2 separate regions of the Homo sapiens genome follow, and region 1 is linked to region 2. Evidence: promoter capture Hi-C in 16 types of primary human blood cells and fetal thymus (Javierre and others, 2016). All regions are on one chromosome and are shown on one strand. The core of a region is centred on a gene start or on the middle of the fragment in contact, and the rest is flanking DNA. Distances in the headings are between cores, read along the strand shown. Region 1 holds the start of BMF (Bcl2 modifying factor). Region 2 overlaps BUB1B-PAK6 (BUB1B-PAK6 readthrough).

Region 1 (5,522 bases), core at 258-2,757, 160 kb before region 2:
ACACAAGCTGTGAGCTGCTTGCTTGGGCCCTGCCTTCGTCCCATCCCATCCCTGTCCCTGAGCTGTCTATGGTCCTGTCTGTGCCCTCTTCCCTGGAGAATGAGGAGATGCCTGCTAGGATGGCAAGCAGCCACGTGGTGTTCTTTGGACCGTGTTTCCCAAGTGTGTGTGTGTGTGTGTGTGTGTGTGTGTGTGTGTGTGTGTATGGGGAGGGGGGTGAGGTGGTGCACTCCAGCTTATTAACAACAGGAAACAAAATTTCCTGATGAAAGGACCAAGTGCTGTCCCGCCAGTCACCTGGCAGGGGCTCCCCTCCAGCTCTCCAACCTCCTCTTCTCAGGCTAGCAATCTTGACCTAAGAAGGGGCCCTCAAAGCCAATCACCAGCACGAGTCATTGTCTTGGTTTTTCCTTTGAAGCCTATCACCTTCCCCTCCCCCTCCCAGCAAAGCCCCAAAGTTCAACCTTTGCCTGGACTGGACAGTGGGGGAGGTGCAGCCAGAAGGTGTGGCTCTGCAAGCCCCAGGGACCCCTCTCACGCTCCACAAACTGTAGGTGGCTTGCCTGTAGGTGGGCGCCTCTGGAGGGGTGCTGGCCAAGGTCAAGGGTAAACTAAGAGAGGGTGAAATTTTTCTCCTGAGCTTAAGAGGTGATGTCCAGAGCGGTGGGAGGAGGAGGGCACTTCCTGAGAACAGGGCCAGGGAATGCTTTATTCCTAGCAAAGGAACTCAAGCCCCGCTGCAGCCATCCCAACCCCTAAGGGCTGGAAGAGGGATGCTGAACTTAGACTCCTCCTCCTCTTAGGAGAAGGCAGTAGTCAGACACCCAGATCCTCGACAGTGACTAGGAACACACACACACACACACACACACACACACACCCCAGACCTGGGTGACTCCAGGAGAGAGTCTCGGCCTCCGAGTCGTGATGCCAGGGCTCCGCGCCAGGGTCCAGCGTGACGAGCACTCGGGGGCTGGACGCCCAGACTCGATTGGGAAGGAGGGAAAAAGCCCAGCTGTTAAGGAGAGGAGCCTTCAGACTCCGCAGAGAGGCAGGATGCCCCACAGCTCCTGTCCTATCCCAAAGTCAGACCCAGAGGCTGGGCCGTTCTCGGGCGCCCAGGTCTGCTCAGCAGTGCACCCCAGGTTCCCCTGCCTACCTGGACCCAACTCCTTCGAGTCCCAAATGCTACCCCCAAGTTCCCTCTTGGAGCAGCGCACCCAACTGTGGGTTCTGCACCCCGTTCCCTCACCCCAGCGCCCCAGTTCTTCATGGTCACCCCAGACGTCCGCAGCCCAAACCCTTCCCGGGCCCCCGTGCGCAGCGCGACTCCGCTCCCCACTTCCCCAAGGAGCTGCGATCCAACTCCGCCCGGCCCCCGGCGGCCACCCGGGCGCTCACCGGGCTGCGGCAGGAGGCGGGAGGCGCAGGCAGGGGCGGCGGCGGCGGCGGGCACAGGCCGGGGCGGGAGGAGGCCACTCCGCACGGTGCGGTATTGTTTCCAAAATACGCCTGCTCGGGGCATCCCGCAAACAGCTGATGAGGCCCCGCCCCCCTGCGCGTCACGCCGAGGACTGACCAATGGCGAGTGAAGCGCCAAGTCCCGGGCTGGGCCGCTGCCAGGGACGGTCACGAATGTACGAACCTTCCCATGGAAACATTGCAAGGGGCCGAGCAAAATTCCGACCGTCGCCAGAAGCGCAGTCGGAGCGCCGTCGCCAGTGCGGATTCTGTCCCTAACACAGGCTCTGGAAGCGCCAGAGAGTCCCTGAATCCTCTGTATTAGGTGTGGGAGAGGGGGCGCCAAAGTAACTTTTGTCTTCTTTTTCACGGCAATGGGCAGAATAATTGCTGCGCGTCCACAAAGGGAGGGGGGAAGGAGGCGGGGAGTTTTTTTATGAGGCTGGTGCGTCCAGTGGGTGCAGGGTGCAGGGTGCGGGTCCCTATGGGATCCCAGCCTCAGGGGAAAGCTCCCTCCCGCCTGCCGAGCAGGTCGGAAGAAAACTGCAGCTCCAAAGCTGAAGGTGTGTTTGAAACAAACACATCCAGGGGAGCCCTTAGGTCCTCTTCTTGACTGGGCGTGGGCACTGGCAAAATAAGCACCTGGCTGAGAAGCGGAGCGCTCAAGAAGGCCGGGGCTGCTTGAGCGGTTGACACATATCTCGCATATGGCAGCATTTAGAGACTGTGCTGGTGCTGCCAGGAGAGCAGCATGTCCTGCAGACCGCGTAAGGGAGTCTATGGGCTACTTCACAGGCATTTACCGAGCACCTACTCTGTGCCAGATATTGGGCTGAGTGCCAGAAACCTGGCGTCTGCCCTCAAGGAGCTTACAGTCTACTAGGAGAGGTAGCCCTGAAAATAGTGAAAAGTTATTGGAATTGTATTCATTCCAAGGATAATGACTATTGAGGAATGCAGAAAAATTCAGAATACAAAGGCTGGAGAAGGCCTCAGGGAGACAGCTTTTAAATTGAATGGGAAATATTTTTCAATAAGGAAAACCAGATGCACATGTCTCACGCCTGTAATCCCAACACTTTGGGAGGCCGAGGCGGGTGGTTCACTTGAGCTCAGTGGTTGGAGACCAGCCTGGCCAACACGGGAAACCCTGTCTCTACTAAAAATACAAAAATCAGGCGGGCGTGGTGGCGCATGCCTGTAATCCCAGCTACTTGGGAGGCTGAGGTAGGAGAATTGCTTGAACCTAGGAGGTGAAGGTTGCAGTGGGCGGAGATAGCGCCACCGCACTCCAGCCTGGGCGACAATGAGACTCCGTCTCAAAAAAATAAAAATAAAATAAAATAAAAAAGAATAGCCCAGGCCTAAGGGTAGCAGACTGAAGTGCTGAGCTGGAGAGCTTACCTGTGCAGGGAGCAGAGGGAGGCTTGGTGACTGGATCATTGGGTGCACACTGAGATTTACGAACGGTAGGCATGGGCAGGTGGGTTCAGGTCAGACTACAGAGGTGTCCCTGGAATGCCAGACTGAAGAATCTGTATTTTATAAAGGGGAGGCAGCAAAGATTTTATTGGAGATGAGTGACTTGACCAAGCCTGAGTTTTAGGAAAGATAAAATGATGAGTCCAGAGAGCAGTGAGAGGGAGCCAGTCCTGCAACAACCCTGACCCACCAGGGGCAGTAGGGCTCAGCAGTGCTCTGACCACCGAGCTGCTCTCTGGGTTGTAAACTTAGATTTAAGTTCAGTGGAGCTGGGACCTTCAGCCCAATAGAGCCTGAAGTCTCCTTGTACCTTTTTCCCATCATTCTTTCCTTTGCTCCCTCAGAAGTCACCTGAAACAGAATGAACCAGCCATATTGAGGGCTGTGGTTGCTAGAATAGAAAAATACTGTCTCCAAAGGACAAAGAGGGAAAAGGGAAAGAGTGGGGAGTCAAGGTTAGCCAGTAGCACAGTCCCCCGAAATTGATAGATTTCCAGCAAAAGGCACTAAGCCAAAAGGAGGTATATTATTTTACCCAGAGGCTTGGCCAAAAGTGCATGTCTGAGCTGGTCAGAGTGACCTTGCACTCCTGCTACATGTAGGGAGATACAGAAACCAAACCTAGCCTCTGTGAAGGGCACCGGCAGCCCTCCGTGATTTCCAATGCACCGACTCCCTTCCGCTCCTTCCTTCCATCCTTCTCTTCTCATTTGCTTTCCTATCAGACCAGTGTCTCAGGCTGGCCAGTGGTGCCCCTGAGCATTCCTTCGGTTCAAGAGTGAAACTCAAGGCCACAGCAGCTCTGAATCTGCCCTCTGGGACAGCACAGGCCCTGAGGGCTGGGGCCATCGTAGCTCTCCTGACCCACCTGAGATGCTAAAGCTCTGTGTGCTTCATCACAGCCCTGCATGGTAAAATTGGGTCCACAAGGCAAAGAAGCTGAGAGAATGGGTTCTTTTTGTTTGTTTTGAGACAAGGTCTTGCTCTGTTTCCCAGGCTGCAGTGCAGTGGTGCAAACACAGCTTATTGCAGCCTCAATCTCCCAGGCTCAAGTGATCCTCCCACCTCGGCCTCCCAAGTAGCTGGGACTGCAGGTGTGCACCACCACAGCCAGCTACTTTTTAAATTTTTTATTTTTGTACAGACAGGGTCTCACTATGTTGCCCAGGCTGGTCTTGAACTCCTGGCCTCGAGCACTCCTCCCACCTCGGCCTCCTAAAGTGCTGTGATTATAGGCATGAGCCACCGCACCCAGCCAAGAATGGGATATTGATATGGGATCTATGTACTCATCAGGCTCATCAGAGTCCTGAGCTTTAGGGTTTATGAACCCCTGAAACTGGCTAAACTGTGTTTGTGGGTACACACAAACATTTTTGTGAGTGGGGTGGATCCATAGCTTACAACAGTTTCATAAAGTGGTCTGTGGCCCTATAAAGGTTTCAGAAAATCGTCATTGTGACAGAACTGGGCTGAGGAACAGGAGGGAGTATCTCAGGGGGTCTGGCAGTTTGCAAGATATGGGGAGGGTCACATCACTATTGATATTTATTTTAAGACCTCTCTCCCAGGTCTTCACAGCCTGCTCCCTCAGGCTGGTTCTGAAAGACACCTGTGGCTTTGCCTCCTGCGCTCTCAGTCTCTAAGGTCAAGCAGCAAGGGGCCCAGCCTTCTGAGCTAGAGGGACCAGAGAAGGACTGTCAGGGATAAAGGGGTCAGGGAGGTCAGGAGCCTCACCCCCACCTCTCATCACTGTCAAAGCAGACTCCTCCCTCTATGCCCTTTTCCCCCTTTCAGCACTGCATGGACTCAGCAGTATCAGGACCTGCTGTGCTGCAGATCTGGGCTCTGAGCCCCCTGACCAATAGCAGCACCCTGGGAACAGATGAACCCTGAGCTTTTGACTGGGCTCGGAGCAAATACACAGTGCAGTCACAGCAACCTCTATTTTGGAGAATTTCCTTTCTCTCATTCTCTTCCTGCACCTTGTCTCAATTTGTTTTCTCCTCTGCTAACTGATGCTGGCTCTGGGAGAAGGGTCCCCAGAGAAAGGCATCAGCACGGAGGCTGATAGGGAGGAGGGCCTTCCCTGACAATCTTGGAGGGATACAGAGTTAAGGGGAGGCTGCTCTCAACCAGAGAGAAAACCCAGCTCCTGTAGAAAGCGGGCAGGAGCCCTCTCCATTGTCTCACCTGGCTATAGGATTTCTCTCTGAGACAAGAAATGGCTCTAAAACTCCAGTAACTGGATCACTGGAAAGGGCGGTTTTTAAAAAACCAGCTGACAGCTGAATAATAGGAATTACCAGGCAGGCTGCCCTGGGGTTACTGAGGTTTGTAACTCAACCCCCAGGGAGGGGTTAGATGGGAAACTGATTTATGGGTAAGGTTGGGGTCTTGCTGGGGGAGCACATGGTGCCTGACCCCCTTAACTACTTCCAGAAGAGCTCATATATGTAAGAAAGACCAGGGATCTGCAAGACGTGGGTGTCCTTCCCTTGCCGGACTTGCCCTATCAAAGGGACTTTATCTGTTATCCGTCTGTCTGCAAAGGATAGTTCCTCTCTTCTGAGTTGTAG
Region 2 (5,984 bases), core at 593-3,092:
TAGACCCAAGAGCCTGGTAGAAGGTGGGGTCAGGGGCCCTATCAGGGTTTGGAGGCTGCGAAGCCAGTGTGTGTGGAGGAGCCCCCGGCCTGGTGTCTCTTCCTCAGAGGGCTGGGCACATCTCTCCCAGCCACCCGTGGAGCTAGAGAATGGAGCCCCGCCCCCTGAGCTCCAGCTCCCTGGCCCAGCCGACCACACCCCTGGGCATGCTGGATGCAGCCCCATGGCACTCACCATCTGCTCTGCTGACGCTGGGCCTTCTCCCCGCATCCCTGCATCCAGCACAGGCGGGACCCACGGTGGGCCCTGATAAATTATGGAAAAATTAATGGGTGGATGACACAGCAGGGAAGGTCCTTAGGTGGTCCTCCCCAGGGCCCCCAGGGACATTCTCTGACCCTGATCTCCCAGCCACCCCTCCCTGCCACAATTGGGCAGCTCCCACACACTCTTTTCTCTTCCCCCTACAGACAGTGGTGCGGGGCAGCGCGATGCCTGTGGATGGCTACATCTCGGGGCTGCTCAACGACATCCAGAAGTTGTCAGTCATCAGCTCCAACACCCTGCGTGGCCGCAGCCCCACCAGCCGGCGGCGGGCACAGTCCCTGGGGCTGCTGGGGGATGAGCACTGGGCCACCGACCCAGACATGTACCTCCAGAGCCCCCAGTCTGAGCGCACTGACCCCCACGGCCTCTACCTCAGCTGCAACGGGGGCACACCAGCAGGCCACAAGCAGATGCCGTGGCCCGAGCCACAGAGCCCACGGGTCCTGCCCAATGGGCTGGCTGCAAAGGCACAGTCCCTGGGCCCCGCCGAGTTTCAGGGTGCCTCGCAGCGCTGTCTGCAGCTGGGTGCCTGCCTGCAGAGCTCCCCACCAGGAGCCTCGCCCCCCACGGGCACCAATAGGCATGGAATGAAGGCTGCCAAGCATGGCTCTGAGGAGGCCCGGCCACAGTCCTGCCTGGTGGGCTCAGCCACAGGCAGGCCAGGTGGGGAAGGCAGCCCTAGCCCTAAGACCCGGGAGAGCAGCCTGAAGCGCAGGCTATTCCGAAGCATGTTCCTGTCCACTGCTGCCACAGCCCCTCCAAGCAGCAGCAAGCCAGGCCCTCCACCACAGAGCAAGGTAAGTCAGGAGCCTGGCCTGCAGGTGTCCACTGGGGAGTGGGTGTAGGGACACAGGCCTTGCCTAGCCTTCCCCTTGGAGGACTGGCAAAGAGGCTCCCTGGACTGCTTCCGCCTAAGGCGGCAGAAATGTGCACGGTAACCTCTTCTCTAAGGAGGGTGGCTCGCCTCCTCCTTCCCTCCCTTCCTTTCCTTCTTTTCTCTGTGGCTGTTGTGTTGTTTCCCATTTCTGTCAGTATTTGTTCCCAAGTGTGTGGCCATAGGAAAAGCTGGATTTGCCTAGTCCAGGGGCAGCAGGAGGCCGACTTGTGGCATGTGTGACTGCTTCAGACGCACATTTTTCTTGTGAGAAAGGAAAGGGTGAAGGGAGCCCCCGTGGTGACATTTCTTGGCAGGCAGAGTGGAGCGCACCTTTTTGCTTCTTCCAGGCCCTCCAGCATCCTGTTGATAGTGACAGTAACCTCTTTTCCCATTTGGCAGAGGAGGAGACTGATAGAGAGAGGGTGAGTCACCCCCAGGCATGATGGAGAGTGAGTCAGAGAAGGAAGGTGGGGAGTGCTCTGGGGCTGCCTGTCCGGCCCGGGCCCTCTTGGCTCATGACTCTTGCGTATGAAGGCTTTACAAGCACAGCAGCCACTTGTTCTTTAGCTCCTTCCTGGGAGGGTCAAAGGCAGTCCTAAGAAACGGCTGCTGACAGTGGCATGGGTAATGGAGCCTCCCCTCCCTCCTGGGAGGGCTTTAAGACAAGCCTGGGTACTCCCCTGTCATCGGTGGGGTGAGTGTGGCCCAGCCTGCACAGGGTGTGGGTTTGGGGATGACCCGGACTACAACCTCTCTGGGTCACTGCCTGCCAGCTGAGGTACTCAGAGAAAGTTCTGGGCGGCCGCGCGTGGTGGCTCACGTCTGTAGTCCCAGCACTTTGGGAGGCCAAGGTGGATGGGTCACGAGGTCAGGAGATCGAGACCATCCTCGCTAACACGGTGAAACCCCGTCTCTACTAAAAATACAAAAAAAATTAGCCGGGCGCGGTGGCGGGCGCCTGTAGTCCAAGCTACTCAGGAGGCTGAGGCAGGAGAATGGCGTGAACCCGGGAGGCAGAGCTTGCCGTGAGCTGAGATCGCACCACTGCACTCCAGCCTGGGGGACAGACAGAGCGAGACTCCGTCTCAAAAAAAAAAGAGAAAGTTCTGAGCTTTGTGCACTCTAGTCCCCTACTAGGTTAAAGGACAGTGGGTTGGGATCCCCATGGGTTGTGGCTTGATGTATCTGTGAGAGGAACACGAGCATCTGTGAGCTGCAGGGTGTCTGGAAGGCTGTGCCCCTGGGGAGACTCAGCCAGAAAACCAACGTAAGATCAGGACAGTGCACCCTGCTGGGAAGGTGAGATTCGGAGCTTGACCTCCCTCTGTCTCTCAGGAGTCCTGCTGCGAGGCCTCAGGGATTTGGAGAAAGGGGTTGTCAACACTGGGCTGGGCACTCATTTGCATCTTTCTGGGCTCCTGCCAGCACCCCACAGCAGGGGGAGAGGCCTGTCCATCCCTGCACAATGTACTGAGTACTCACCATGGGCCACTGCTGCTGGGTATGCCGGGATGTCCCCCATACTTGTGGGAGCAGGCGGTAGTTATCTCGAGCTCAGCAACACCATACTTCCAAATCCAGGGGAGTGGTTTCCTTCTGGGCAACTCAGACACATCTTTCAAGATTTCTACTCTGAAGCCAAGCCTCTCAATGGCAAGCTGAGACCCCCCGAGCTGCTCCGGGCCGGGGCTTCTCAGCGTCCTCACTGCAGGCGCTCAGGTCAGTCCATCCTTTGTGGTGGGCTCTCCTTGCACTGTAGCAGCCTCCCTGGCCTCTACTCACTAGAAGTTGGTGGTACCCTCGGTTGGAATAACCAAAAATGCCTCCAGACACTGCCAAATGTCACTCGAGCACACCCATTAAGAACCACTGCCTTAAGCAAATTCAATAACAGATGGGGAGCATCAGCCTTCCTCCTCCTCCTCCACCACCACCTACCCCAGGAGTCCCCAGATCAAGCCAGCAGCCCTTGGCACTGGGGCTGACTCTGGACACTTGCAGCAGCTTCCATAACAGCAGTTAGGCCACAGAGGCCATGCAGTGTGCCAGGCATGGCTGCAGGAGGGTCTGAGTATAGACTCCAGGGCTCCTGTACCTAGCCCCAGGCAGTGAGGCCTGGAGTCACTCTAGCTAAAGAGATCAGGAAGACAGGGCGTGGGGGCACAGAGACCAAAGAGGCAAGACAGTTTTTTAGGAGCTTGCAGGGATTAGACATGTTCCACTTAGAGTCAGAAGGGCAAACATTGGTTAAGCACCTACCGTGTACTCCGATATATGTCAAGGATACATGGCACCAGTGGGATTGCAGCATGGGAGTCAGCAGCCACGGGCGTCCTGCGGGTTCCAGTGCCTACAGGACAACCAAACAACCCACAGGGTTATGAGGATTACATGAGATAGTACGTTGAAGGCACTTGTCAAAGTGGTAAGCCCTCAATAAATGGCTTTATTAGTAGTATTTGAGATGGCGTCTCCCTCTTTCGCCCAGGCTGGAGTGCAGTGGCACAATCTTGGCTCACTGCAACCTCCACCTCCTGGGTTCAAGTGATCCTCCCACCTTAGCCTCCCAAGTAGCTGGGATTACAGGCACGCTCCACCATACCCAACTAATTTTTGTATTTTTAGAAGAGATGGGGTTTCACCATGTTGCCCAGGCTGGTCTTGAACTCCTGACCTCAAGTGATCCACCTGCCTTGGCCTCCCAAAGTGCTGGGATTACAGGCACCTGAGCCACCATGCCAGGCCGGCTTTATTATTTTTAAAAATATTATGCCATGGCCTCTCCCCTTTAGGATACTTAAGGTATAGCCCCCTAAGCCCACAGCTGGGGAGCCATGGCTCAGGGCGGGAAATGAGGCATTGCTGTAAATGTATGCATGACTCTTCTAGTGGCTTTCTTCCCAAGAGGTCTATCACATGAGTAACTTCAGAATTAATCCAGAGCCTGTAACAATTAATTAATTCTGTTGTCGTGTCCCCCTTTCCCTTTCTTGTGTGGCCTCACAAGTTTCATCTGGTCCTTGCTTGTGATTACATTGATAAAAGCTCCCTCCCTGTGGAGACAGGCAGTGAAGCCAACGAAAGGATGCTAGAGACCAGACCTTGCCAGGCTGAAGACCAAGCCAGCTCCCCAGACTCCCCAGCCTATGTCCCAGACTCTGCTTGTGCTGGGCTCCTGGCTGGGCCATCCCTCCCCCAGCCTCCAGACGCAGGCTCCGCCCTGAGCCCAGCCAGCACCTGCAGCAGCAGCAGCAGCACAGGGACCTGGCCTGTGGAGACAGGGAAGAAACCCCTACCTCAGCCTGTCCACGTGGTACCCACACATCCTCAGAGTAGAGCTGGCCCATGCAGAAGCCCTCAAGGCCAGGAGGGGAATGATCTCATTTTACAGCCTTTCTTAGGAGCTTCAGGATGAGAGGTCATCAGAGCCACCTCAGGAGGAGCTTTAGGTGGTCCCCAAGCTTCTGCCCCGACCCACCTGGATGGGTGCCTGGAGAGCATGTTTTCTGAGTTAAGTCCACACTCAGGCCAGCAGGCAGCTTCCTTAGAGCCCCGAGCCTTTCTACAGGTTGACTGTGTGATGCAGTGAGCCCTGCCCCACTTCCCTCCCTGTCCCTGCCTGGTGACGTCTCATGGAACCTCTGTTCCCAGGACCTGGTATCACAGCCTCAGTCATGGCCATGCGCCCTCCACCCCCCTCACAGCCCTCCCAGAGGCTCCCTGAGGCCGTAAGATCATACTGCCCACTTATGCAGAGTTTCTCAAAGTATGTTCCATGGGCCTCCTAGGACCCAGGGACCTTGTTCAAATGCAGTCTCTGCTCTAGGCTCCCACCGAATCAGGCTCTGAGGCGGGAAGTCTGCGGTTTCTCTAGCTCCCCAGATCTCTGCACACGTCCCTGCATTGTAGTGGAGACAGGCTCAGAGAGGATGACTTGCCTAAGGCTCATCACAGGGCAGAGCAGCCCAGGGCTGGGCCCCAGGTCCTGACAGCCCAGTCCAGGGGTCCCACTGCTCCACTACACAGTGGATGGTGACAGTGTCACAGTGTCACAGTGGATGGTGACAGTCAGGTGCTGGCGAGGACATGGGAGAATGTTTACTGTCCAAATGTACTCATCAGGGATGGAGTGAGTCCAGGCAGTCCTGGGAGGATTGCTAGCTTCTTTCCTGTGAAGGTCAAGCACACACTCGGGTGGGCAGGCAGGTGTGGGGGTGGCAGAAGTCTGCCCCAGCATGGCTGTCGGCCAGCAGGAGTGCCTATTCCACCCTAAGCAGGCCAGGGACTTGGCTGGAGAGTAGAAGCCCTGAAGCTGCGGGGGGTCGGGGAAGGAAGGGAGTGAGGGTTGCCAAAGACACTGAAAAGACTCTGGTGGGGCCCAAGGCCCAGATTTGGGGTTTGGGGTCCCTGAGCAAGCATCCCAGCCCAAACTTACTGCTTGAGATTTCCTGTAAGTTGTTTCAGCTATGGGATCAGGACCAGGACCCACTGGGCACCTAAGACAATGGCTTACATGATGGGTTTGGAGAAGTTCCTAGAAGGCTTTTTCTGCATCCCCTGAAGCATCCCTCTCCAGGTGCCCTTTAAAAACACGTAATCCCTGGGAGGGGTCATGGTGCATATCACCGCTCCTTGGGGAGAACCCAAAGATGGGCGGGCACCTTTCCTGTCAGAAAGAGCAGAAGGGCTTGGGCTCGGAAAAGCAAGAAGCCTCGCAGGCTTCCAGGGCTGGGCCTGAGCAGGGCTCACTGGGGGCCCAGGCTGCCCCTCAGCTCCACCT

Evidence for each region. The method cuts DNA at HindIII sites, captures the fragments that hold promoters and counts their contacts. A CHiCAGO score of 5 or more calls a contact.
Region 1: a contact is called between the fragment with the promoter of BMF here and a fragment that was not itself captured in region 2, in 5 of 17 cell types (naive B cells, endothelial precursors, total B cells and 2 more). The highest score is 8.2, in naive B cells.

The regions. Positions count from the first base shown.
Region 1 is chr15:40,107,372-40,112,893 of GRCh38, forward strand. It overlaps BMF (Bcl2 modifying factor), which reads right to left and starts at 1,508. Exons shown (of 5, transcript NM_001003940.2): 1 at 1,402-1,508; 2 at 888-1,015. RefSeq lists an enhancer at 111-806 and a silencer at 1,316-1,565. The HindIII fragment of the contact is 6,207 bases long and covers 1-5,522 here.
Region 2 is chr15:40,265,372-40,271,355 of GRCh38, forward strand. It overlaps BUB1B-PAK6 (BUB1B-PAK6 readthrough), which reads left to right. Exons shown (of 10, transcript NM_001128629.3): 4 at 471-1,124. It overlaps PAK6 (p21 (RAC1) activated kinase 6), which reads left to right. Exons shown (of 11, transcript NM_001395430.1): 5 at 471-1,124. Among named protein-coding and RNA genes, the nearest start is that of ANKRD63, 15 kb to the right of the region's middle. The HindIII fragment of the contact is 5,642 bases long and covers 1-4,663 here.